5 separate regions of the Homo sapiens genome follow, and all the other regions are linked to region 3. Evidence: promoter capture Hi-C in 16 types of primary human blood cells and fetal thymus (Javierre and others, 2016). All regions are on one chromosome and are shown on one strand. Each heading gives the region's core, a stretch centred on a gene start or on the middle of the fragment in contact. The rest is flanking DNA. Distances are from core to core; before and after follow the strand shown.

Evidence for each region. Contacts are between HindIII fragments. The CHiCAGO score rates a contact against its expected background, and 5 or more counts as called.
Region 1: a contact is called between a fragment that was not itself captured here and the fragment with the promoter of SUCLG2 in region 3, in 1 of 17 cell types (total B cells). The highest score is 5.3, in total B cells.
Region 2: a contact is called between a fragment that was not itself captured here and the fragment with the promoter of SUCLG2 in region 3, in 1 of 17 cell types (M0 macrophages). The highest score is 6.2, in M0 macrophages.
Region 4: a contact is called between a fragment that was not itself captured here and the fragment with the promoter of SUCLG2 in region 3, in 1 of 17 cell types (total B cells). The highest score is 6.0, in total B cells.
Region 5: a fragment that was not itself captured here is called in contact with the fragment with the promoter of SUCLG2 in region 3 in 1 of 17 cell types (total B cells); the score reaches 6.0 in total B cells.

Annotation. Positions count from the first base shown.
Region 1 is chr3:67,009,662-67,014,713 of GRCh38, forward strand. KBTBD8 (kelch repeat and BTB domain containing 8) reads left to right here. Exons shown (of 4, transcript NM_032505.3): 4 at 1-1,549. Among named protein-coding and RNA genes, the nearest start is that of KBTBD8, 14 kb to the left of the region's middle. The HindIII fragment of the contact is 4,490 bases long and covers 648-5,052 here.
Region 2 is chr3:67,103,049-67,108,143 of GRCh38, forward strand. No RefSeq gene overlaps it. Among named protein-coding and RNA genes, the nearest start is that of KBTBD8, 110 kb to the left of the region's middle. The HindIII fragment of the contact is 2,164 bases long and covers 1,839-4,002 here.
Region 3 is chr3:67,652,111-67,657,448 of GRCh38, forward strand. It overlaps SUCLG2 (succinate-CoA ligase GDP-forming subunit beta), which reads right to left and starts at 2,502. Exons shown (of 11, transcript NM_003848.4): 1 at 2,393-2,502. The coding sequence starts at 2,476. SUCLG2-DT (SUCLG2 divergent transcript) reads left to right here and starts at 2,587. Exons shown (of 7, transcript NR_109992.1): 1 at 2,587-2,992. RefSeq lists a silencer at 2,114-2,793 and an enhancer at 2,309-2,808. The HindIII fragment of the contact is 5,512 bases long and covers 2,442-5,338 here.
Region 4 is chr3:66,974,191-66,979,046 of GRCh38, forward strand. No RefSeq gene overlaps it. Among named protein-coding and RNA genes, the nearest start is that of KBTBD8, 22 kb to the right of the region's middle. The HindIII fragment of the contact is 1,323 bases long and covers 2,060-3,382 here.
Region 5 is chr3:67,041,867-67,047,064 of GRCh38, forward strand. No RefSeq gene overlaps it. Among named protein-coding and RNA genes, the nearest start is that of KBTBD8, 46 kb to the left of the region's middle. The HindIII fragment of the contact is 174 bases long and covers 3,267-3,440 here.

The DNA of each region.
Region 1 (5,052 bases), core at 1,643-4,142, 640 kb before region 3:
TTTGCATTTAACTGATGAAATTTCTAACAATCATCAGTTAGGAATATTAACATGAAGGATAAACCAACTTATTTGTATACCTAAGGCAGGCATTTGGATCAGTAACATGTTTTACTAAGCCTAGAGTAATTCGTAAAGGGTATAAGCATAGGACAGATTTTGCCCTCAATCACAATATTTGTATTCACTTGAAAGCAAACTGGCATGGTTCGTATTTTAAAAATCTTGCACAAATTGTAATGTGATACTGTGAAACAAATTGAAAACATTGCCTCTTTGCATCACATACCTCGTTTTTCAGAAACTTTCCAAACTGCTTTACATAGACCTCTACAAGTAGGGAATGTTTTCTGAAGCAGAAGTTAAAATGGACAGCATTTCTAGAATTAACATTTTAAAATCTAGTCTTAGCTAGATATGTGGTTTCTTCTTATTGGTGTTGATAGTATGTCTGTAATCTCTGTATAAACTTTGTCAACATTTTTACCTCCCCAGTTTTATCTTCTGTTTTGTTTTTGTTTTTATCATCATGATGTTTTGGAGTTATTACTGTGTATTTTAGAAATCATTCTTTACAGTTTTGCATTGCTGAGGAGAGAGAAAAAACAATTTTTTTGCAAGAGATGTTCATGTAATTTATTTTTGAAAGCTTTGTTGAATAAGATTTCCTGCCGCTTTTTGACAATCTTGTGTATTTAGAAAAATGTATTACTTGAAAACATGACATAGAACATTGAGTTAGCAATTTACATGGGCTGTATGTTATATAAGAGAATGACATACTGTGGCTAATTCAACAGTAGATTTATTCTTTTAGCCTGCACAACAGTTGATCTTTTGGCTATGACAATTTGTATGGAGGGTACGATCTAAGTTAAGTGTGTCAAAAGCAAGGCTTAGGATTTGTTATGGGAGTAGAATATATATTGAATTTTGTATGAAGAACTATTTGTTTAAATTATATAGCTGGGATATTTTGCCACTGTTAAAATGGATTCAGAAGAGGTCCTAGAAAAGTAAGATTAGTGACATGTGTGGGTTTATATTTAGATATTTAAGGTGCATTTTCATAGTGTGGTAAGACCTTAAGTAAAAGGCACAATGGGTACTACAGAATTAAAATGTAGGTCTAACATAATGCCAGTTCCACTTTAACTTTGTTTTTGCATTTGAAGAATGTATGTAGCACTTTCCTATATATTTGTCACACATTGAAAACTGGACTGGGTATAACTATGTTATAGGAAAGTAGAAATTGTATTCTTTATTTTCCATCTTTGTTTTCTGTTCTACAAAGTTGATGCTTAAGCATCAAGCTGATTTTATTGGTCATGAGAACAAATGGATGTGATCATGAAGGAATCAGATTCCCTATGTAAAGCAGTTTAAAATGGAATTCAATGTTCAGTGCTCAGGTATGTAGTAAGTACTGTAGTCCTGTGGGGGCAAATGTGTAGATATTTTTAAACATTTTGCCATAATTGCACAATTTTTTGCATTTTTACCTGATGTCATTGTTTCTTATAATAAAACCTTTTCTGATTGAAAACTTCCAGTGTTGCAAAGTGATATCTGACTAGTGAGTGTTGCAGAATTAAAATCTGGTAAAAAATCATGAAATACCTTATGTCATGATAGAATGGAATGAGATTTTAATCTATTGAATACCTGTCCTCTGGTAAAAAATGAACTACTTTATGTATATAATACTTTTTAAATTCTAAAGCAAGTTAGTTCACTTATATTGGTAAATTCTTTGTTCTGTTTGTTCTGGCCTAAAATCTTGTTATGTTTGACTCTTTTGTGTTGGTCCACTTTGCATTACCGTAAAGGAATACCTGAGATTGAGGCCTCAGGAGGCTTTAGCTCATGGCAGAGGGTGAAGCGGGAGCAGGAAAGAGAGGGAGCCAGAGAAAGTTGGGGGAGGTTCCTGTCTCTTTAACAATGGGATCTCACATGCGCTCATTACCATAGGGAGGGCACCAAGCCATTGATGAAGAATCCACCCCCATGATCCAAATACCTTCCACTAGGCCCCACTTCTTCCAACACTGGGGATCACATTTCGACATGAGATTTGGAGGGGACAAATGCCCACACTATATAATCTCTTACGTATTTCATGTTTAATTCATCAGAAAGTCCCGTTGCTTCTTCCTTCATAATACATCCAGACTCAGACCACATACCATTTGCACCACTGTCACCCTAGTCTAAGCCAGCTTATCTTATCTGACTTAATGCAGTTTCCACTGACTGGTCTTCCTTCTATCACCCTTGACCCCTCATAACCTATTCTTTTCTCCACACAGTACTCAGAGTGATCCTCTTAAAACACAAGTCAGATCATGTTTCTCTTCTGCTCAGATCCTTCCAATGGCTTCCCATCTCCCTTCATATGACAGCCAAACTCCATACTTACATGATCCACCCCTCTCAAACTTGTTGCCATTTACTTGGCTTGCTCTATTTTAGCCACACTGACCTTGCTTGTTGCTCAAACCTGCTGAGCACCTCCACAGCGACTTTGCCCTTGCTGTCTCTTTTGCTGGATAGATCTTGACAACTCACTCACTTTCTTTTTTATTAAAACATCACCTTACTGGAGAGGCCTTCTCTGATCACATTTTGTAAAATAAGATCATCCAACCCCACCCCCATCATACCTCCTGCTTTATTTTTCTGCTTTATTTTCCATATGTGTCTTCCCCCATTGAAATGTACACTCCACAAAGGCAACGAATTTATTTTAATTCACTGTTGCACTTTAGATTGATGCCTAGCACATAGTAGGCACTCAATGAATGCTTGTGGGAAGAAATGAATTTTCAGTTAAGTCTTGGAGCCTAAAGGATTACCAATTTTATTGGTCTTTTCAAAAAAAAAAAAAACCAGGTTTAGTTCTAATGAATTTTCTCTATTGTTTTGTGTTTTCGGTTTCATTGATTTCTGTTCTAATTTTTATAGTTTTTTTTCTTCTGGTTGCTTTAAGTATTAATAACTCATCTTTCTATTTCTTTTCTTTTTTTTGAGACAGGGCCTTACTCTGCCCAGGCTGGAGTGCAGTGACGCAATCTTGGCTCACTGCAGTCACCTCCACGGCTCAAGAGATCCTCCCACCTCAGCCTCCTGAGTAGCTGGGACTACAGGCGCACGCCACTGTGACCAGCTAATTTTCATTTTTTTTTTTTTTTTTTTTTTTTTTTTTTGTTAATACGGGGTTTCACCATGTTGCCCAAGCTGATCTCAAACTCCTGGGCTCAAGTGTTCTGCCTGCCTCAGTCTTCCAAAGTGCTGGGATTATAGGCATGAGCCACTGTGACTGGCCTTCTTTTCCTAATATATGCATTTAATGCTATAAATTTTCCTTTAAGTATTTCTTTTGTAGAATCCCACAAATTTTATTTAGTATTTTCATTTTCTTAGTACAAAATATTTTTATCATGTCTTCTTGGGGAATATACCCTTTCATAATTATGTAATTGCTTCTCTTTATCCTTGATAATCTTTTTTCTGAAGTCTTCTCTGTTTGAAATTAACATAGCCACTCAAGTTTTCTTTTAATTACTGTTTGCTTCATTTATCTTTCTCCATCCCTTCTCTTTTAACCTATCCTAATCTTTATACTTAAAAGGGCTTTCTTGTAGACAACTTACAGTTGGGACTTATTTTAATATCCATTGTGAGAATACTGGTATGTTTAGACCAGCATTGCATTTAAAGTGAGTACTGATATAGTTGGGTTAATATTTAACATATTGGTTATTGTTTTCTATTTGTTGCCCTTCTTCTTTGTTTCTTTTTTTCACCTATTTTCCTGCTTTCTCTGGTTTTGACTGAGCATTTTATATAGGATTCTATTTTATCTCCTCTTAGCACTTCAATTATACTTTAATTTTTTTTTCAGTGGTTGCATTAGACTTACAATATACATTTCAAAACTAATCTAAGTCCACCTTTAAATAACACTATACTGCTTCGTGTGTAGTGTAGGTATCTTAGAACAAAGTTCCCAATTTTCCCCTCTGATCCCTCATGACATTGCTGTCATTCATTTTAGTTATCCATATGCTATAACCATGCAATACATTGTTATGATTAAAGTCATACTTTTAGATCAATTGATATTTAAAAAATAAGATATTTTACTTCATCTTCACTTATTCCTTCAGTATTCATTTATTTAGGCAGATCTAAGTTTCTGTTCTGTTTCAATTTTCTTCTGCCCAAATAACTTCTTTTATTGGGCATTGCTTGCAAGACAGATCTGCAGGTCATGAATTCCTTCAGATTTTTGTTTGAAAAAGTCTTTATTTCTCATGTTTCAAGGATAATTTTGCTGGATCTAGAATGCTAGGTTAGTGGGTGTTTTGCTTCAACTTTGTAAAGTGAGTAGCTTCTAATTAAATATCAGTGGTTTGGTGGGCCTGTGTCTTGGGGCTGTGATCTTCACAGGTGTTTCTCTAGTGGTACAGCTTTTGGTTTTCCCCTCTCCATCCTCTTTCTGGCTGTGCCATTCCCAATTTTATTTCTTTGAAGCCCTGACCCATGTTGATTAAATCCTTTTTCCTTTAGGTGAGAAGAGAAGGTTAGAGAGGTTTGGGATGGGAGGAATGCTCTTCCCCCTGCTTTTGTTGAACTCTGCCAAAATGTTTTTCCGTGGAGAGTATGCTTTTTAAATGGAAAAGGTTCTGGGTGTATTTCATGATCATTACTCTTCCTGTCCCCTAGTCAGAGCCACTAGGAGGTTTGTCTCAGATCTTTGCCATGAGAACCTGGTAGAGTGCCTGTTGGTAAAATCCACAGAAGCGTAGGGGCCCCAAAAGACTGAAGTTCCCAGGAGTTTTCCACTTTCATGGGAGTCCATGTTCAGCCTCAGCGATTCATCAAAAATGACCATTTAAGTGTTCTTACAGTTTACGGCTCTGGTTACTTCTGGTCAAGGTTAGCAGATCTGGACTGTGACTCTGAATTCACCTCTAATCCAGGGTAACATTTGCCCTGCAGCCTAATTTCTCTGATGGATCTAATAAAAGTCATTGATTGTCAGTT
Region 2 (5,095 bases), core at 1,671-4,170, 550 kb before region 3:
TCTTCTTTATAAATTACTCAGTCTCAGTTATTTCTTTATAGCAATGCAAGAATGATTTAACACAGAAAATTGGTATCAGGAGTGAGGTATTCCTATAAAGAGACCTGAAAATGTAGAACGGAGTAACAGGCAGAGGTTGGAAGAGTGTGGAGTGCTCAGAGGAAGACAGGAAGATAAGGGAAGGTTTGGAACTTCTTAAAGACTGGGTAAATGATTGTGACCAAAATGCTGATAGTAATATGGACAGCAAAGGCCAGGCTGATGAGGTCTCAGATAAAAATGAGGAATTTATTGGGAACTAGAGCAAAGACCACCCATGTTATGCCTTAGCAAAGGGCTTGACTGCATTCTGTTCATGCCCTAGGGAACTGAGGAAGTTTGAACTTAAGAGTGATGACTTGGGGTATCTGACAGAAGATATTTCTAAGTGTTTAAGAGTTGTCCTGGCTGCCTCTAAAAACCTATTCTCAGATGTGGGAGCAAATAAATGACTTAAATTTGGAAGTTATATTTAAACAGGAAGCAGAGTGTAAAAGTTTGGAAAATTTTACACCCTAAACATGTGGCAAAAAAAAGGGCTTTTTTGAGGGGATGAATTGCTGCGGAGCTTATTAGAGAGGTTTGCATGACTAAAAAGAGCCAAGTGCTGATAGCCAAGACCAATGGGAAAAAGTCCTCGAAGGACTTTCAGAGACATCTGAAGCAGCCCCTCCCATCACAGGCCCAAAGGCCTAGGAGGAAAGAAGGGTTTTGTTGACCAGGCCCAGGATTCTGCAGCCCTGAGCAGCCTTGGGCACTGCTTCCTGCATTCAGGCCAATCCAGCTTTAGCCATGGCTCAAAGGGACCCAGTTATAGCTTAGGCCACAGCTCTGGAGGGCACAAGCCATAAGCCTGTGTGGTTTCCACATGGTGTCAAGCCTGCAGGCTCACAAAGTGCAAGAGTGAAGAAGCTCTGGAAGCCTCTGCCTAGATTTCACAGAATTTATGGGAAAGCCTGGGTGTCCAGGCAGAAGTCTGTTGTAGGGGTGGAGCTCTCACACAGAGCCTCTACTATGGCAGTGCAGATGGGAAATGTGGAGTTGGGGACCCATGCAGAGTCCCCACTGGGGCACTGTCTAGTAAAGCTGTGGGAAGGGGGCCACTGTCCTCCAAATCCCAGAATGGTAGAGCCACCAGCAACTTGCAACCTCAGCATGAAAAAGCCACAGGGGTAGGGTTTCCCAGGGCTTTGGGAGTCCATCCCTTGCAGCAGTGTTCCCTAGATGTGGTACATAGAGTCAAAGGAGGTTATTTTGGAGCTTCAGGATTTAATGACTGCCCTGCTGGGTTTTAGACTTGTGTGGGCCTATAGCTACTTTCTTTTGGTGTATTTCTCCTTTTTTGGAATAGGAATGTTTACCAATTCTTGTACCCCTCTTGTATCTTGGAAGTAAAAAGCTTATTTTTGATTTTGCAGGCTTGTAGGTGGAAGAGACTTGGTTTGTCTCAGATGAGACTTTGCACTTAGGACTTTTGAGTAATGCTGAAATGAGTTGAGACTTTTGGAGGACTATTGGCAGGAGATGATTGTATTTTGCAATGTGAGAAGAACATGAGATGTGTGAGGCCAGGAGCAGGATAATGAGTTTGGATTGTAATCCTCAATGTTGGAGGTGGGGCCTGGTGAGAGGTGTTTGGGTCATGAAGGTGGATTCCTTATGGCTTGGTGGTCTCCTCACTATAGTGAGTTCTCCTGAGATCTGATTATTTAAAAGTGTTTGGCACCTTCGTCCCCGACTTGCTCCTGTTCTTACCATGTGAAACATCTGGTCCCCCTTTGCCTTCTGCCATGTTTGTAAGCTTCCTGAGGCCTCCCCAGAAGCTGAGCAGATACCAGGACCATGCTTTTTATAAAAGCATGCAGAACCATGAGCCAATTAATTTTCTTTTATAAGTTACTCAGTCTCAGGTATTTCTTTATAGCAATGCAAGAATGGCCTAACACAACATATTTAACAAAGGGCTTGTATCTGTAATATACAAGAACTCTTAAAACTCAGCAATAAGAAAATAAACAAGCCAATGAAAAAATGGGCAAAAGATCTAAACAGACAACTGAGAAAGAAAGATATAAAGATGGCAAAGAAGCATATGAAAAGATGCTAAATATAATTTGCCATCACAGAAGTACAAATTAAAACAATAATAAGATACCACTACATTCCTATTAGAGTGATTAAAATCCAAAAAACTGACAACATCAATTGCCAGCAAGGATTCAGAGCAACAGGAAATTTCACCTATTGTTGCAGTGGATGCAAAATGGTATAGTCATTTTGGAAGAGGTTTTACAGTTTCTTGCAAAGCTAAAATAGGCTTACCATATGTTCCAAGACTCATGCTCCTAGGTGTTTACCCAACTGATATGAAAGCCCATGTCCACACAAAAACCAGCGTGTGAATGTTTACAACTGCCTTATTTAAAATCAACATCAACTGAAAGCAACCAAGATGTCCTTCAATAGGTAAATGGATAAATTGTGATACATTCAGACAATGGGATGTCATTCAGAAAAAATGAATGTGCTATCAAGCCACTAGACTAGGTTGTAGAGAACCGTGCATGAGGTAGAATCTGACACTTTGGAGCTGGGCTGTCCACTGGGAGAGTGACTAGCCACATGAACACTTAAAATATAGCTAGTGTGATTGAAGTACTGAATTTTCAATTTAACTTAATTTAAAATTAAATACGCACCATGTGTCTAGTGGCTGCTATCTCAGCAAGTCCAGCTTTAAAACATTAAATTCTGTTCCTCTCTCCTGCAAATGTCTCCAACCCCAGATCTAGTGCCCTTTGCTTCTCTCTCCATTCTTTGTTATAAGGATCAATTTAGACTTTCTCTCTTAGTTTTTATTTGATGCTCTGTTATGGTGGAAGGTGTGGATATGAGCTAGGAAGAGTGGGGATAAGTAGACAAGTCTACTGAATAAAGACAGCACCCTCTTTTTGTAGAGTTTCAGACACTGTTCTAAGGAATCTGCATGGGTTCCTTTATCTAATTGTCATAAAATCCTATTATAATGATTTCCATTTTATAGATGTGGTACCTGGCACACAGAGAGGTTGGCAAGGTTCACATAGCTACGAAACAGTGGAATCAAGCCAGGTTCACATTGTATACCACTGTGCTATAGTGTCTCCTAGTATGGCCCTAATTTGTGGGGCCAATGGGCTTGAAATAGCATTCACTTACTTCCAATACTACAGAGTACAGAAGCAGCAGCTTCTGGAATTTAGGTATCATGAATGATTAGTACCTTGTCCTACTCCAGGGAGTAGGACATAGAACATTGTAGGGCTGATATAGGCTGGGGAAGAGATGGCATCCATCTGCTACCAATATTTGCATTGATCATGTCATTTTTAGGTCCAGTGTCTTCAGTGGCTTCCCAGTTGTCTAGGCATCAAATGCAAACTCCTCAGCCTGCAATTTGTATCTAACTTACCTTTGTGACTTGATCTTCAACTCCTTGGGTGTTTATAGCCTCTACATGGTTTCTACTACCCACTGGTCTCTGAGCCCTTCTTGCACCAGTCTTCTTGACTTCCTAATTTGTGATTGAGGCATCTTTCCCAGTGGGATCTAGGTGGTCTAGCTCTTCACTCATGCTTCTCAACCTTTCATCTGCCTTGAAGCCTGTGTAGAATACACCAACCCAGTAACATGAAGCCCAGTGATTGCCTCCCTTCCATTCCACTGCCACTGCCCTTGCTTATGTCCACACTACCTAAACCACTGTGGTCTCCCAGCTCCTCCTTCCTGTAATCCACCTCCAAAATGCACCCAATAGCTGCTGAGTTGGTCTTCCTAGCAATGCTCAGCAACTCAAATTCTTGCTCATTTGCTTAAAACTTTCACCCTTTCCCCACCACATGATAATAATAAAGGTTTCCTACCTCTCTTAATCACTGGCCTTCTTGCGTTTTCCCAAGCATGCTGGTATGTATTTACCCCTTAAGCTTTGCATGCACTAGTCCCTCTCCCTGGGATGCCCAAGTGGTTGGTTCCCACGTAGCAGTCAGGACTATGCTCAAGTTTCATTCTCTCAGAGAAGCCTTCCATGAACAGAATACTGGATCTAGCTCTCCCTTTCTTCTCTTTTCCCCTCTTCTTTATTTTTCTTTGAAGCATTTATCATTGCTTCACATTATACGGCAGGTCCTTGAAGTATACCATTTTGTTCAATGTTTCATTACAATGTTGATGAGAAAAGTAATTGATTCTGTGAAGTCTGCATGTTCTCCCAATGTCTGTGTGAGTTTTCTATGGGTCTTCCGGTTTCCTCCCACATCCCAAGGCTGTGCATGTCAGGTTAATGGGTGTGTCTAAATGGTCCCCATCTGAATATGTGTGGGTGTGTTAGTGCACCCTACAGTGGGCTGGTGTCCTGTCTGGGGCTGGTTCGTGCCTTGAGCCACTGGGACAGACTCCAGCCACCTGAGATCCTGAACTGGAAAAACTGGATAAATCATTATCTTACTTGTTTTGAGTAATCTTTTAAAAATGTGAAGTTTTTAAAACTTTAATTCACATTAATTTCAATGTTTAATATTAAAAGGCTTTCGGGTCTTTCTTTAGAAGTCTGGCAATTTTGTGACTAGAAATATGCCAAAGGAACTTAACTCCTGTTGCTATAGGTTAGCCTAGGTAAAACTGGTTTCATTGTATGTAATTGCACTTAAAGTTACAGTTTCCAAGAATCTATCAAGGATATTAAGTGAAGACTTACTGAATATTTTTTGTTTTGTTTTTTTGTTAGTCTCCCTACTGGAATGTAATTCTGCCAAGGCCCACATGCTGTCTGTTTTATTTACTGCTATCTACAGCACCGAGAACCATGCCTAGGCCCCCAATAAACATTTGTTAAACAGATGAGAAAATGTAAAATATAAATCAGAATAGCTCTATTAATCAGACAACCTGGTTATAAGAAACAGAAATCTAGGAGGACAGTGCTTATTAATAACATTTGGAAGGGGAATGGCCTATCAGTATTGTTTCTCTAAAGTTGTATGGACCAAACTGTCTTATCAATTTGCAGTGGCAGGCT
Region 3 (5,338 bases), core at 1,252-3,751:
GGACGTACTATCAATCAAAAGTCAAAACAGTAAAGCTAACAGCAAAGGTGAAAAAAAAAAAAAAACTTCAATGACACTAAGCATCAGGAATATGTGTCAAATGTTAAATTTAACCATAGGGAGGAGGTAGACAAAATGTCATTCTATGGGTATCTTTGAGAGACCAGTTAAAGTTATTTCTCTAAGCAGAAACTGGGTCTTTTATTTCTGTACAGACAACAGTTTTTCACAAGGCCTGGTGGTATAAAATAGGTCTGGGCCAAGAGTGGCAACAGATTTCTGAGACACTTGGTGAGGATTCTTAAGTATGATGAGAGAAGTGGGCCATGTTTAACTGCAATGTCTGCCACGGGCAAGGGACTATGGAAACGTAATATCAAATCAGTGTACATGAAACAGATCATAGGAAGCACCCAAGAATTTGAAAATAGCAATACTCACCATTTTTATGGACAATTCTAAGATGGTCATAAAGAAAAAAATAAAAATGTGTCAGTGGTGCTAATGACTTGGATGTTATATAGTTACTACTGGCATGCAGATTAATTTGCATGTTGATATAATATATTTTCATGAGGAAGTATATACTCACCAGGAAACAGCATGGTGTAACGGAAACGTAAAGGTAAGCCTTTACTCTGGAATGCCACAAACTCTCACTGTATCGTTGAATATGTCATTGAACTTCTTTAGGCCTCAATTTCTCTACCCATGAAATGAGCTGGCTGGACTAAATGATTGCTAATGTCCATTTCCAGTTCTTGGACACTGTGTACCTTTCTATCTTTAAAAAAACCTACTTTTACCTTCTAAGAATTTACAGAAAAACACATCATCCACAAATATGTAAATCACAGTAACCAGATGGGGCGTGCTAACAGATCTTTTTACCCAGTTTTCTTGACAAACCAAGAGTATCTCTCCCCAACCAGATTTTCTCCTGTGTTGCGTTCAGCCTCTTATTTCTTGGTTAGGGAAGTAGGCTTCACATATTTCAGCTAAACACTCTGCATTTTCAGTTTCTCTGTACAATTCATGAGTTTTCACTGCCCTGGGCCCCATGTTTCTCATCAATTCAAGTCTACACTCATGGTAAGCACCCTAGTTCTTGTTTTTTCTAACACTTAAATAATGAATAGGACTTCATCTCCTAGAGCTATTCTCCTTACTCTATTACAACAGTTATTAGTGAGTTTTAATTAGACAAAACTGCCATTCCTTTTGCTACCTCACTATACTGTCAAGCACCTATTAAGAATATTACAGTAGTAAGTATTAGCACCTTTTAAATTTACATTAACAATAACAGAGAAATGGGGAGGCAGGAAATGAAAGGAGAGGGGTAAAAATAGCTCACAGATGTCATAACCAAAGTTTAGAGGAACTCAAAAAATCATTAATCACTATTTTTTAAATTTTCTAAAAAACTATACTATGCACATCCTGGTTAAAATTGTATGAGTGATAATTTGCCTCTCATCAATTAAAAATGGGGAAATAGGCAAGGTCATTAACTCTGCTGTGGCTGAATCCCAGACTGTGCTTTCTTTAAAAGGGAAGAGAGATAGTCTACGGAGACTAACCAGTTCAGTGGTTGAGTGATTTCTACAAGAGTCATCACCAACTCAAAACTTTCCTGAAGTCCTTCTGACTATTTTAACGCTTGCCATCTGCAGAAGGTAAAAATCTGCTAGAGGCCAAGTTCCAATCGCTATCCAGCCCACCACTGACCCTCTTTGATTTCATTCTCCATCAACAAGGAGGACATGGACAGGGTCAATGGTCTAATGCGTTTTAGTGACAGCCCTGATTTTTCATTGGAAAGAGGAGAAAGATCGTTTCCCATTTTTCTCCTTGACCCACGGATTTGACCAACTCAGGCACATTAAAAGTCTGCAAAAGCAGGTAGCCTGCAGGAAGTTCACCCTAGGGGGTGAGTTCCTAGTTGGGCTGAAACGGGTTTCCAGGCATGTTTATCACGTGGTCTAAACGTGCTCAGGGTTAGTGCCAGAAGTTTGAAAAGCAGAATTAGTAGAGCTGACAATAAAACCTCAGGGCTCCAAAACCCGGTCCAAGAAACTTTTCTTAAACTTGCGTCCAGCGCCTGCTTCAGCGCCTTCGCCATGAGTCTGCGCGGGCAGACAGCGGAGACTCTAGTGCGTTGGGTCGCTCATACCCCGAGGCACCCGGGGCTGCCGCCGCGCCGCCCCTGCCCCACACTGGAGCGGGGTTCCCTGCTGCGCCTGGACCCGGCGCCGCGTCACCTCCCGAAGTGGGGCGCCCGAGGGGCCGCGCAGGGGGTCAGGCGGAGACCAAGAGTAGCAGGGGGCGAGGGAAGCCCGGGCAGGCCGGCGCCGCTGCTGGCGCCCGCAGCTCCTGCCCCCACGCTCACCTGGGACCCGGCCGCCAGGAAGCGGGGCCGCAGCGCTAGGGCTCGCAGAAGCTTCCCGGCCTGCGCTGCTACGGGGGACGCCATCTTAAACAGGAAACTCGGCACGGGGCAGTAGGGCGGGCGCGGGCAGGGGAAGGAGGCGGAGGAGGAGCAGCGGGAGGAGGGGTCAGAGGAGAAGCGGGCGCGGGGAGGAAAAGGAGGAGGAGGCAGAGGCGGTCTGGGCCGGGCCGGGCCTGACCCCTGCGTCCCGGGGGCACAGGCGTTCTTAAGGCTGCAGAGCCCTGGGTCCCCCACCCGGCCCCGGTTCACTTTGAGCGGTCCCAAGGCCTGAGGGCCTACTGTCCAGTCCCCAGGTTATCGTCCTGAGCAAAGACAGACCCCGAGCCCTGCGGTCTTGGGGCTCAAACAGTCCCTGGATGGCCAAACAAGCAAATATTCGCCATGGCAGTGGGTGCTGGAAGGGTGGCTCACGGAGCTGACGCCCTCCGCAGAGAACCGTGGTCTAGTCCTGCGGTCACGAGGCCTATCTGGGACAGTGGTGTTTGAGCTGAGACTTTAACGAATAGAGACAGGTGAGGTTCCTGCAGCCCAGGGCTTCAGGTGAGTCAAGGAGAGGCCATTGGAGGCTCTCCATCCCTTAAGGAGTTGTGGGTGTTTTGTTTTGTTCTATCCTTAACCTAAAATCAATGTAAAGCTGAGAGATGAAGCCGGGTGGGTCGGTTGGGGACTTGGAGAACTTCTCTGTCTAGCTAAATGATTGTAAATGCACCAATCAGCGCTCTGTGTCTAGCTAAAGGTTTGTAAATACACCAGCCAGCCCTCTGTGTCTAGCTAATCAGGTGGGGACTTGGAGAACTTTTCTGTTAGCTAAAGGATTGTAAATGCACCAATCAGTGCTCTGTGTCTGGCTAAAGGTTTGTAAACACACCAATCGGCACTCTGTAAAAACGCACCAATCAGCGCTCTGTGTCTAGCTAAACGTTTGTAAATGCACCAATCAGCACTCTTTAAAAAGGGACCAATCAGCACTCTGTAAAATGGACCAATTGGCACTCTGTAAAATGGACCAATCAGCAGGATGAGGGTGGGGCCAAATAAGGGAATAAAAGCTGGACACCGGCGCCAGTAGTGGCCCCTAGTTGGGGTCTCCTTCCAGGTTGTGGTTGCTTTGTGCTTTTGCTTTTTGCAGTAGCTCTTGCTGCTGTTCACTGTTTGGGTCCGCACTATCCTTATGAGCTATAACACTCACCACAAAGGTTTGCAGTTTCACTCCTGAGGTCAGGGAGACTGCGAACCCACTGGGAGGAATGAACAACTCCGTATGCCCCACCTTCGAGGGCTGTAACACTCACTGCAAAGGTCTGCAGCTTCATTCGTGAAGTCAGCGAGACCACGAACCCACAGGCAGGAACAAACAACTCCGGACGGGCCACCTTTAAGAGCTGTAACACTCACTGTGAAGTCTGCGGCTTCACTCCTGAAGTCAGCGAGACCACGAACCCACCGGAAGGAAGAAACCCCAGATACATTTGAACATCTGCAGGAACAAATTCTGGTCACGCCATCTTTACCGCGAGGGTCTGCAGTTTCATTCTGGAAGTCAGCGAGACGATTAAGAACCCACGGGAAGGAACCAATTCCGGACACAAAGCTATTGGAGGATTTTAAGCCCAGTAATCAGAGTGATAAAAGCAACATTCATTTGGAGCTGTGAACCCCAAATACCTGACACAGGTCTCAATCAATTTAAGAAGTTTATTTGGCCACAGTTAAGGACACGTGCCTGTGACACAGCCTCAGGAGGTCCTGACATGTGCCCAAGGTGTGGTGGAGGACACAGCTTGGTTTTATACATTTTAGGGAGATATGAGACATCAATATATGTAAAATGTACATTGGTTTGGTCCAGAAAAGCGAGACAACTGGAAGCAAGGAGGGGCTTCTAGGTTATGGGTAGATAAGACACAAAGGGTTGCATTCTTTTGGGTTTCTGATTGGCCTTTCCAAAGGAAGCAATCAGCTGTGCGTCTATCTCTGTGAGCAGAGGGATGACTTTGAATAGAATGGGAGGCAGGTTTGCCCTAAGCAGTTCCCACCTTAACTTTTCCCTTTACCTTAGTGATTTGGGAGTCCCAAGATTATTTCCCTTTCACAGAGTTTACGCGAGTCTAAGCAATGTGCATATAATAAAAACAACAGCAAAGTTACTGAATGTGTGCCAAGCATTAGACAAATATAAACTTGTTTAGTCTTCATAGCAAAGTTTTAAATGAGTAGAAGTGTACAATCCCCATTTTGCAGAAGAGAAAACTGAGGTGCACAGAGGTTAAGTAACTTGCCAGAGGTGGCAGGTCTGATAAGAGATGAGATTCACATCCCTTCCACCCACCCCCAAATTAAGCACTATTTTAGATTTTTTTTTTTAACCTTACTCATTCTTGAGCATATGATCATGAAAAAAGGTACAATGTGACATAAGTAGACAGCTGTTGCTACTAGCTTCTTTCCTAATCTCTCTCTTTGGAAAGTGGGGGAGCTGAGGATTTTTATTTTAATATAATTTCTAGCCCATTTCGAGACATAGTTTTACCCACTAGATGTAGCATCTTTTGATGATAAGGATGATGATGATTGTTTAAATCAATTATTGTCACGATGGTGGCAAAGTGGCAAGGTCTAACTCCATCCTACATTTATTAGTCTGTATTCTACTCAGAAAAACTGCACTCTTTCCATCATCTCCATTGATGAAAGAAAAACTTCAGCTAAATTAAATGTAAAGGAGTTTAATTGAGCAATGAACGGTTCGCCAATCGGGCAGCTCCCAGAATCACAGTGGATTCACAGAGACTCCAGCGCAGCCACGTGGTGGAAGAAGATTTATAGAGGAAAAAAGGGAAATGACTTACAGAAATCAGAAGTGAGGTACAGAACAGCTGGATTGGT
Region 4 (4,856 bases), core at 1,471-3,970, 680 kb before region 3:
CCTCGTGATCTGTCCGCCTCGGCCTCCCAAAGTGCTGGGATTACAGGCTTGAGCCACCGCACCCGGCCTGGATAATTTATAATATTCTCTCTGAGCCTCAGTTTCTACATCTGTAAAACAGAGATAATTGTAGAGTGTACATGATGGAGGGTGAAGTGATCGTTACATACAGAAATCCACTTAAAATGTGACAGAAGTTTCAATAAAGGTTAGCTCTTATTCATAGTAATAATGTTAATATAGCTAATCTTGTCACCAAGTCTTGGTGCTGGTGGCATTGAATGGTTCTTGAGTTATGAGTAGGATTTCAATACAGGGCTGGGGGAAGGAGATGAGGCAGGAAGGACAGCTCAGAAGTGAGAAAGAAGGCAAAGTCAGAATGAACAGAGGGTGGCTTACTCTGGCTAGGCTCAGTCTGGCCTCATCACACACTAAAATGTGTAGTTAGAACAATCACTTGTCTTGCTTTACCTGGGACTGAAGGGTTTTCTGGGGAAGCAGAACTTCCGGTCAGCAAAAACTGGGGAAGTCTTGGGAAAAGGAGGATAAGATGATCACCCTACATGCATTAGGCCTTTCTTGTGTTGCTATAAAGAAATACCCGAGACTGGATAATTTATTTTAAAAAAAGAAGAAGTAGTTTAATTGGCCCACAGTTCTGCAAGCTGTAAAAGCATAGCACCAAAATTGCTTAGCTTCTGGGGAGACCTCAGGGCACTAGTATTCATGGCGGAAGGCAAAGTGGGGGCAGGCACATTACACGGTGAGAAAAGGAGAGAGTGGGGTGGGGGAGGTGCCACACACTTTTAAATGACCTGATCTCCTGAGAACTCACTATCACTACCATGAGGACAGCACTAAGCCATTCATGAGGGATCTGCCCCCATGACCCAATCACTTCCCACCAGGCCCCACCTCCAACACTGGGGATTACATTTTAACATAAAATTTGGGCGGGGACAAATATACAAACTATATCACTATGCTTCAAGAATTGTGGCTCAACAGACAAGGGTCTTGAAGGCCATGTGAGGGGGTTGAGGCTGTATTTGTAGGCAATAGGAAGCTCTTGAAAGTTTTTGAGGTGAGGAGTGACTATTCAGAAGTGTGTTTCAGGCAATCAGCCTACAAAACAAAGGTTTTGTCTCTCATCCTTGCCCAATAAGTCTCTTCTGCATTGTTCCTTCCACAGTCCTTGGTTTATATCTGCCCTCTCTGTTTATCACACTGTATCTGTGTTAAAAATATATGTGAGTGTCCTCATCATCTTACAATATAATCTCCTCAATGTCAAGATTGGGTCTTCACCATCTTATCTCCATTATGTCTTATATAAGCTCAATATGTATTGAATTAAGTTGAAAGCTTGTGATTCTATACAATACAATATTAATTGACATTTACAATTCATCTCGGTTCAAAATTGAACATCAGGTGTCAGTGTGTCTAGTAATTATTCTTCTGATGACATGGAAAGTCAATCTTTAAAATATTGATTGGGAAATCTACACACAAAATAATCCTCTGTAAATGTAAGAAAGTGTTCTTCTCTTTTCCATGAACATTTCTAATTGAAAAAACTGTTCTTACCCACTCAATTGACCAGTAAATGCTTTGTAGTATGATGTTCTCTTCCCTTTCTGGGCCTGAGATACAGGTTCCCATGGAACCTCGACTGTACCTGTATCTCAGGTAAAGGAGAGCAATTGGTAGAGTTTCCATGCAGGGTTCCAGTTGGCCTAAGGTCATTTTTGAATGCTTACGGGAAAAGTTTGTTTTAGGCACTGATATGGTTTGGATCAGTATGCCAACCAAATCTCATGTTGAATTATAATCCCCAATGTTGGAGATGGGGCCTGGAGGGAGGTGATTCGATCATGGATGCGTTTTTCATGAATGGTTTAGCACCCTCCACGTGGTGCTGTTCTCATAATAGTGACTGAGTTCTCGTGAGATCTGGCTGTTAAAAAGTGTGTTGCACCGCCCATTGGCTCTCCCTCTTGATCCTGCTGCAGCCATGTGACTTGCCTGCTTCTCGTCACCTTCCACCATGATTGTAAGCTTCCTGAGGCTGAGCAGATGCCAGCACCATGCTTCCTATCCAGCCTGCAGAACCATGAGCCAATTAAACCTCTTTTCATTATACGTTACCCAGTCTCAGGTATTTCTTTATAGCAACGTGTGAATGAACTTATACAGGCACTGTCAAGTCAATGAATCAAGTAAAAAGCATTTACACACAGACCCTAACTTATAATGGTTTGGCTTACAATTTTTTGACTTTACAACGGTGTAAAAGTCAGCAACATTATGTATAAACTATACTTTGTGTACCCACACAACCATTCTGACTTTTTACATCATTGCTGTAGTCAATAAATTATATGAGATATTCAATATTTTATTATAAAATTGGCTTTGTCTTAGATGATTTTGCCCAACTGTAGGCTACTGTAAGGGTTCTGAGCATGTTTAAGGTAAGCTATGCTATGCTATGATGTTCAGTAGGTTAGGTGTATTTAATGCATTTTTGATTTACAATATTTTTTTTGATGGGTTTGTCAGGACGTAACCCCATCATAAGTCAAGGAGCATGTATATTTATTTCTATATGTACAGGATTGTGGAAGAAGCCAGGATATATTAATCTGTGAGATAACATAGCATGGTGGGTTTTTTGGTTTGCTTTTGTTGTTTTGCTTGTTTGTTTGTTTTATTTGAGATAGGGTCTAGCTTTGTTGCTCAGGATGGAGTGCAGTGGTGCAATTATGGATTGCTTCAGCCTCAGACTCCTGGGCTCAAGTAATTCTCCTGCCTCAGCCTCCCAAATAGCTGGAACTATAAGTGTGTGCCACCACACCTGGCTAATTTTAAAAAAAATTATACAGACAGGGTCTTTCTATGTTGCCCAGGCTGGCCTTGAACTCCTGGCCTCAAGCAATCCTCCTGTCTTGGTCTCCCAAAATGCCGGGATTACAGGTGTGAGCTACCACACTGGGCCTAGCATGGTGGTTTTAAAGCAAGGATTGTAAGGCCAAAATGACTAGAGTTCAAATTCCAGCTCTGGATTTCACTTTCTTATCTTTGATAAGATATTAACCTCTCTTAGCCTCAGTTTCTTTACGTGCAAAATGGAGGAAAAACAGTACCTTCCTCATAGGATTGTTATAAGAATAAAATGAGATAATGTATGTAAACTCCTAACACTGTGAACACATTTTATGCAAGAAGTATGTTCCTAAAGCCCTTAGATACTCTAAGACTGACCCAGGCAAAGGATGAAATATGTTTCATTTACTGGCTAAAGACAGACTTCCTTGTAGACAGTTCACTGATTCAATCACTCATTCATTCACATAGTTTATAAACACTTAGCTAACCAAGCTTTGAAATTACATGATTCTTGACAAATTTTGGATTCCTGGCTGGGTTTGCTTGGGTTCCTGGGAAGCAGATACTACGTAGAGATGAGCATTCAAGAGGCTTAAGGGCTGGGCACGTGGCTCACTCCTGTAATCTTCGCACTTTGGGAGGAAGAGGCTGGTGGATCACTTGAGGTCAGGAATTTGAGACGAGCCTGGCCAACATGGTGAAACCCTGTCTCTACTAAAAATACAAAAAATTAGCTGGGTGTGGTGGCGTGCACCTGTAATCCCAGCTACTTGGGAGGATGAAGCAGGAGAATCACCTGAACCCGGGAGGCAGAGGTTGCAGTGAGCAGAGATTGCCCCACTGCACTCCAGCCTGGGTGACTGAGTGAGATTCCCTCTTTAAAAAAAAAAAAAAAAAAAAAGCTTATTAAGGAGTGGTGTTGGGATATTTACAGGTAGGGAAAAGGATGCAGTTAAAACAAAGGCTCCAGTCAACCCTGAAGGATGCTCTGAAGCTGAGATATCTCTTTTAGGATGTCCAATGTTAAGGCAAAGGCACTGGGTTTTCATACCCATTTTGACCAGTTCTTCCAGTTCTTGAAGGGAAGGAGGTATGGTCTGCAGCAGGGCAGCTCTCTTCAGCTGATGCAAAATCTGGAGAGACACTGACCTGAGATCAGTCAGCCCATTTTACTCCCAGCAAGTGGGTAAATAAGGCCTGAAGGAGGGCATCTTAGCAGAATGATACCCTGTCTACTGCAAGCCAGGTTGTTGTGACTTCAGATGTACATAAAGTGAAACTTTATATTTTATTGTTACATAATTTCAAAATGATAGACTTTGCCACCTCCCTGGGTATGTGCCCTATTACTATTGTCATGCTGCCCTAGACAATGAATTTCCCATTTATTTAATGGTGCCTCCTTCTTAGTAATTTGGTAAGGATTACAAGTTACGTAATGTATAGAAGGTGCTTTACGAAGATCCTGGCATGCAGCAAACGTCTGGCACGTGTTAGCTGTTTTTATTAAGAGAAGGTCTATGAATACAGAAGGACTCAGTAATAAATGAAGGAAAGGAAACTATGTTAGGATTTAAAAATTTGCAGACTGATTTAAAGCACTGGCAAAGTTTACATTATGGTATTTGACTAGTGGGTGTCTCGGTCTAGTTTTATGTCAACATTAATTGAAGGTTTGGGTTTTGGCACCTGGTGGGAAGCCTAGGCGAGACTGTGAACATTCTTCTCTCCCTCTTATTACAAGGGAATTTAAGAATCTTAGAATTACACTCTGTCCATTTGGGGAATAAAAACGTAAACAATCATAGCAAAAAAAGGACAGAGACCAACCAAGATGTAATAAAGGATTCAAATATGAGACACAGGAAATTTATCCCCCAACTAGGTCCTCATCCCTACACATGTAAAAATATTCATTATTTCACTCAAATTCTTATGAGTTCTTGTAGACAGATACTATATTT
Region 5 (5,198 bases), core at 2,104-4,603, 610 kb before region 3:
TCCACTGTAAGAGTTACTGAAAGTGTCTGTGATGGTCCAGGAGGCTTCCGAGGTGATGGGGCAGCATCAGCCTTCAGCCACTAAGCCGAGAAGATCTGGGAAGGAGTCAGTCAGAGAGCCTTGGGCCAGAGTTCCAGGAGCTCTGGTAGTGGCTGCAGGGTGAGTTGGACAGTCCGATTTCCAGTGGGGTCCTGCACAGATGGGACATGGCTTAGGAAGAATCCCAGGCTGTGGGCATTCCTTGGCCCAATGGCCAGATTTCCAGCACTGAAGTAAGATCCTGGGGGAGGAGGTCCTGAAGGAATGCTTGACCACTGTGGTTTAGGCATTTTGAAGTTCTTGTGTGCTGGAGATGTGGCTGGGGTTTTTCTCACAGTGGAGGCAAGGAATTGCAACTCAGAAATATGTTGCTACTTGGCTGCCTCTACTCTATTATTGTACACCTTGAAAGAGAGGTTAATTAAATCCTGTTGTGGGGTTTGAGGGCCAGAATCTAATTTTTGGAGCTTTATTTAATGTCGGGAGTGGATTGGGTAATAAAATGCGTATTGAAAATAAAACAGCCTTCTGACCCTTCAGGGTCTAGGGTTGTAAAGCATCTCAGGGTTGCTGCCAAATGAGCCATGAACTGGGCTGGGTTTTTATATTTAATGAAAAAGAGCCTAAACGCTAACTGATTTGGGAGAGGTTGGATAAAGAAAAAGAAGCATTAACCTTGACTATGCCTTTAGCTCCAGCCACCTCTTTAAGAGGAAATTGTTGGGCAGGTTGGGAAGGGCTAGTTGCAGAATGAAACTGTAAGCCAGACCAGGTGTGAGAAGTGGAGGTGATAGAAGGATTATAGGGTGGGGGAGCGGAGGCAGAGGAAGAATTGGAGCCTGATTCAGCCTGGCAGGGAGTCACCTGAGGAGGAGCAGTCTGGGGAGGAGGGGAGAAGTCAGATGGGTCGGTAGAAAAGGAAGATTGAAAAGACTCAGCGATGCTTGGGGTTGGGACTGAGGGGACAGGCGGGAGGGAAAGAAGGAGGTTTTGGGATCATTCGCATTGGGAACAGAGACTAGGGAGGGACTGATGTGTAAAAGAATGCCTGGACGTCAGGCACCTCAGACCATTTGCCCATTTTACGACAAGAATTATCTAGATCTTGTAGGATGGAAAAATCGAAAGTGCCATTTTCTGGCTATTTGGAACCATTGTGGAGTTTGTATTGGGGTTAAGCGGCATTGCAGAAGAAAATAAGTCATTTAGGTTTTAGGTCAGATGTGAGTTGAGGAGGTTTTAAGTTCTTGAGAACACAGGCTAAGGGAGAAGAAGGAGGAATGGAGGGTGGAAGGTTGCCTATAGTGAAGGAGGCAAGCCCAGAGAAAAGAGAGGGTAGAGATGTGGAGAGAAGGGGTGGGGGGTTCTTGCCCCCCATGAAAGTGGTGCTTGCCACTAAGGGTGAAGGATCAAGGGAGGTGTCCCCGCGGTGATCAGACACCTCTGAAACGTGGGTGAATAATCAAGCATGCGTCCCCGCAGTGATTAATGACCAAGGGAAGACTGTCTTCCCGAGTCTGTGACCGGTGCCACTTTTGGGTTCACGGATAAAACGCATCTCCTCTGTCTCTACCAGAGAAGGAAAAGAACTGAAATTAAGAGAACGGAGAGATTGAAGGATGGCACCAAGATTGAAAGGAGAAAGAGATTGAGGGATAGTGAGAGAGGTTGGAGAAGAGAGTAAAAAGAGGCTGCTTACCTGATTTAAAATTGGTGAGATGTTACTTGGGCTGGTTGGTCTGAGAACGAGAGATTGTAGGTGGATCTTTCTCATGGAGCAAAGACCAGGAGGACAGGGGATTGATCTCCCAAGGGAGGTCCCCTGATCCGAGTCATAGCACCAAATGTCATGCACGTCCGTGTGAAGAGACTATCAAACAGGCTTTGTGTGAGCAATAAAGCTTTTTAATCACCTGGGTGCAGGCAGGCTGAGTCCGAAAAGAGAGTCAGCAAAGGGAGATAGGGGTGGGGCCATTTTATAGGATTTGGGTCGGTAGTGGAAAATTACAGTCAAAGGGGGTTTTTCTCTTGCAGGCAGGGGCGGGGGTCACAAGGTGCTCAGTGGGGGAGCTTCTGGGCCAGGAGAAGGAATTTCACAAGATTAATCGCTCAGTTAAGGTGGCGCAGAAACAAATCACAATGGTGGAATGTCATCAGTTAAGGCAGGAACCGGCCATTTTCACTTCTTTTGTGATTCTTCACTTGCTTCAGGCCTTCTGGGTATATATGTGCAGGTCACAGGGGATACGATGGCTTAGCTTGGGCTCAGAGGCCTGACAGTATACAGATGCAGAAACTTTGGAAGTGTACATAAGAAACCAGTAATAGTGCTTATTTGTTCAGAGGCTGGGAAAGTGAGTACAGATGGTCACAGGTGAGAATAAGATTTTTCTCTGAATCCCTTTTTATATTATTTTATTTTGTACTACTGATTCAAAAACTTACCCCCAAAATAAGATCTGGCAAATACCTTGCCTTTTCTAGGCAGCTCTAATTCATTCCATCAATTCTTGTTTTATTAAGTCATCATAGGGACTATGTGCCAAGCACAGAATTCTTTTCTGGCATCAGAATTGTACAATATTGACTTAAAAGTAATTGACCTAGAATACAGTACCACATGGTGCCAAAATACAAAAGGGTCTGTGTAATACTCAGTTCGAGAAAGGTAAGGTCCTTTTGGGTTTTGGGCCTCTCTGGCTCTCATAGCCACTTCAGAACAGTGAGTTATAACCTTGTAACTTTCTGAATCCATCTACCAGGCTATAAAACTCCAGGGATCTGGTGAGCCAGGCTACTTGGGGCCAGGAATTGGGCGAGTCAATCCATGACTAGGATACAGAGTTAGCAAATAAGGGATTGGCCAGGATTCCCACTCTGAATTTCTTTCTCTCTTCCCCTGGCCTCAATGATCTACCCTGACCACTTACCTCTATAGACCCCTATGAGTGCTGACATTGTGTAAGGGTCAAAAGAGAGAAATAGGGAGGAAGTCAGACTGAGAGGGAGAAAATTGGCATTTGCAGGTTCTACATACATGAGTGGTATTTTTAATTAATGAGATTTTTGGAGACACTTTCATTAAAACCATTTTTATATTTTTAGGCTTAAATTTTTTGAAAAGTTAAATTCTAGGCAAAGAGGCCCAGATCCTTTCAAATAGGGCAAGTTGTGGCTGAAGACCAATTACCTGCATGCAGAGGGCAGAAGACGGAAGGGAGCAGGCAAGCTTGGAATAAATGAGATTCCATTCCAATTAAATGAGGAGTCTCAGAAGCACCTCCCACAAGCTAGAATTACTGTGATGCCTGTTGATGTTTTAATCTCTTCTTTTCTGTCGGGTGAGAGGCATATAAAGAATCAGAGAAATAAGGAAGGCCAGTCACTTGAGAAACCACATAAGCTTTTTTTTTTTCTTTATAATTTTTAAGCATAAAGAGGCTGACTGAAATTGAGATGCGATTACTATACAAATGGCCTGAGAAGAACAAAGGCAACGGTGGTTTTGACAACTGACCATGGTGGATAAGATTTTAATTATTTAAAGAAATCCTAGAAAATCTTAAAAAAGAATCAGATGGAAAGAGAATCACTCAAGCTTTGAAAGGAAACCTAAGGTTAAAATTAACAAGGCACATTAAGAGCTGAAGATGAGTTAGAATAATACCCGATTTTACCTGGTATTTACCCTAGGTTTTCCTCTAAAATTGAGCATCTTGTTTAAAGAGAGTATTTCTTCATATTTCTAGATTTTTTTGTTTAATAGAGAATTCTACCTTGGAGGAAGCCTGAGTAGAAAATTTTGTTAAATTTGGTGACTGACTTAATCATGCCTTTGGGAAGACTAGCTATTCAGACCTTGCAGCTATAACTTAGACATCCTTCTGAAAAGGATGACAGCATCTGCCCCCAAAATAAAGAATTCAAATAGTGGGCAGAGTATCGGGAGAAACTTAGAGGCCACTGAAGTGTTAGCATAAACATGCAAATCTGCAAAATAACCTTGGTATTTTGCCAAGATTATTTTGCAGATTTGCATGTTTGCAAGCAACAGATATATACCATTTTGTATCTGTTGCTCAGAGGACAGCACTAAAATTGGCTCTTTAGGCAGATGCAGCTTTCAAAACAAGAATTAGATTTTAGGTCTTCAGAGTCTCAAAAACAAGAAAGGCAAACAAAACTTAGAGATGATTGTTGAAATATATTTAATATTTTACTTTTGCAACTTGAAAGCTAGTGACTTTTTTTTTTTTCTTTGAGATGGAGTCTCCCTCTGTCGCCCAGGCTGGGGTGCAGTGGCACAATCTCAGCTCACTGCAACCTCCACCTCCTGGGTTCAGATGATTTTCCTGCCTTAACCTCTTGAGTAGCCGGGGTTACAGGTGTGCACCACCATGCCTGACTAATTCTTGTATTTTTAGTAGAGATGGGGTTATACCATGTGGGCTAGGCTGGTCTCAAACTCCTGACCTCAGGTGATCCACCTGTCTTGGCCTCCCAAAGTGCTGGGATTACATGCGTGAACCACCGTGCTTGGCCAAAAGCTAGTGATTTTTATCTTTGCATTATTTTAATAAAGTAATTTTCAAAAGTTTTAAATGACATTGGAGCTCAGTTTGCAAGTTTATCTTCTATAGAATCTTACATACATAAACCAAAAACTAGAAATTTATTAGTTTTAACCTGTAAATTCACATTTATTACAGTTTTTACTTAAAAATAGACTGTTGACAAGCTGATAATTTGAAAACAGAAGCTGTCATTATAATAGTAGTTATGACAGTTGTAGTCCTTTGTCAGCTTCAAGACTCATCTGATTTTTGTATGTTATTTTGTTTGCACAATAGGGAGAAAAATCTTAATTCACTAAATAGGAGCAAATAGCTTTCTAACACACTCATTTTGCATTCTTTGGGTACTGGATTACTTAACTGATTTTGAAACACCACAAAGAATGGTAGATTGTTTTCCTACATTTATTCATTAATACTTCTAACTACTGTTCACATAATTAAGTGTTCAAATTTCAGAGAAGTTGATAAAAAGATATAATCAATTCTTTTGGTAGAAAATGCTTTTAAACTGTATCTTATAATGTGATGGTAAGTGGTGTTTTAAAAAAATCTTGTATACTTCAATGTTTGTCTATAAAATAT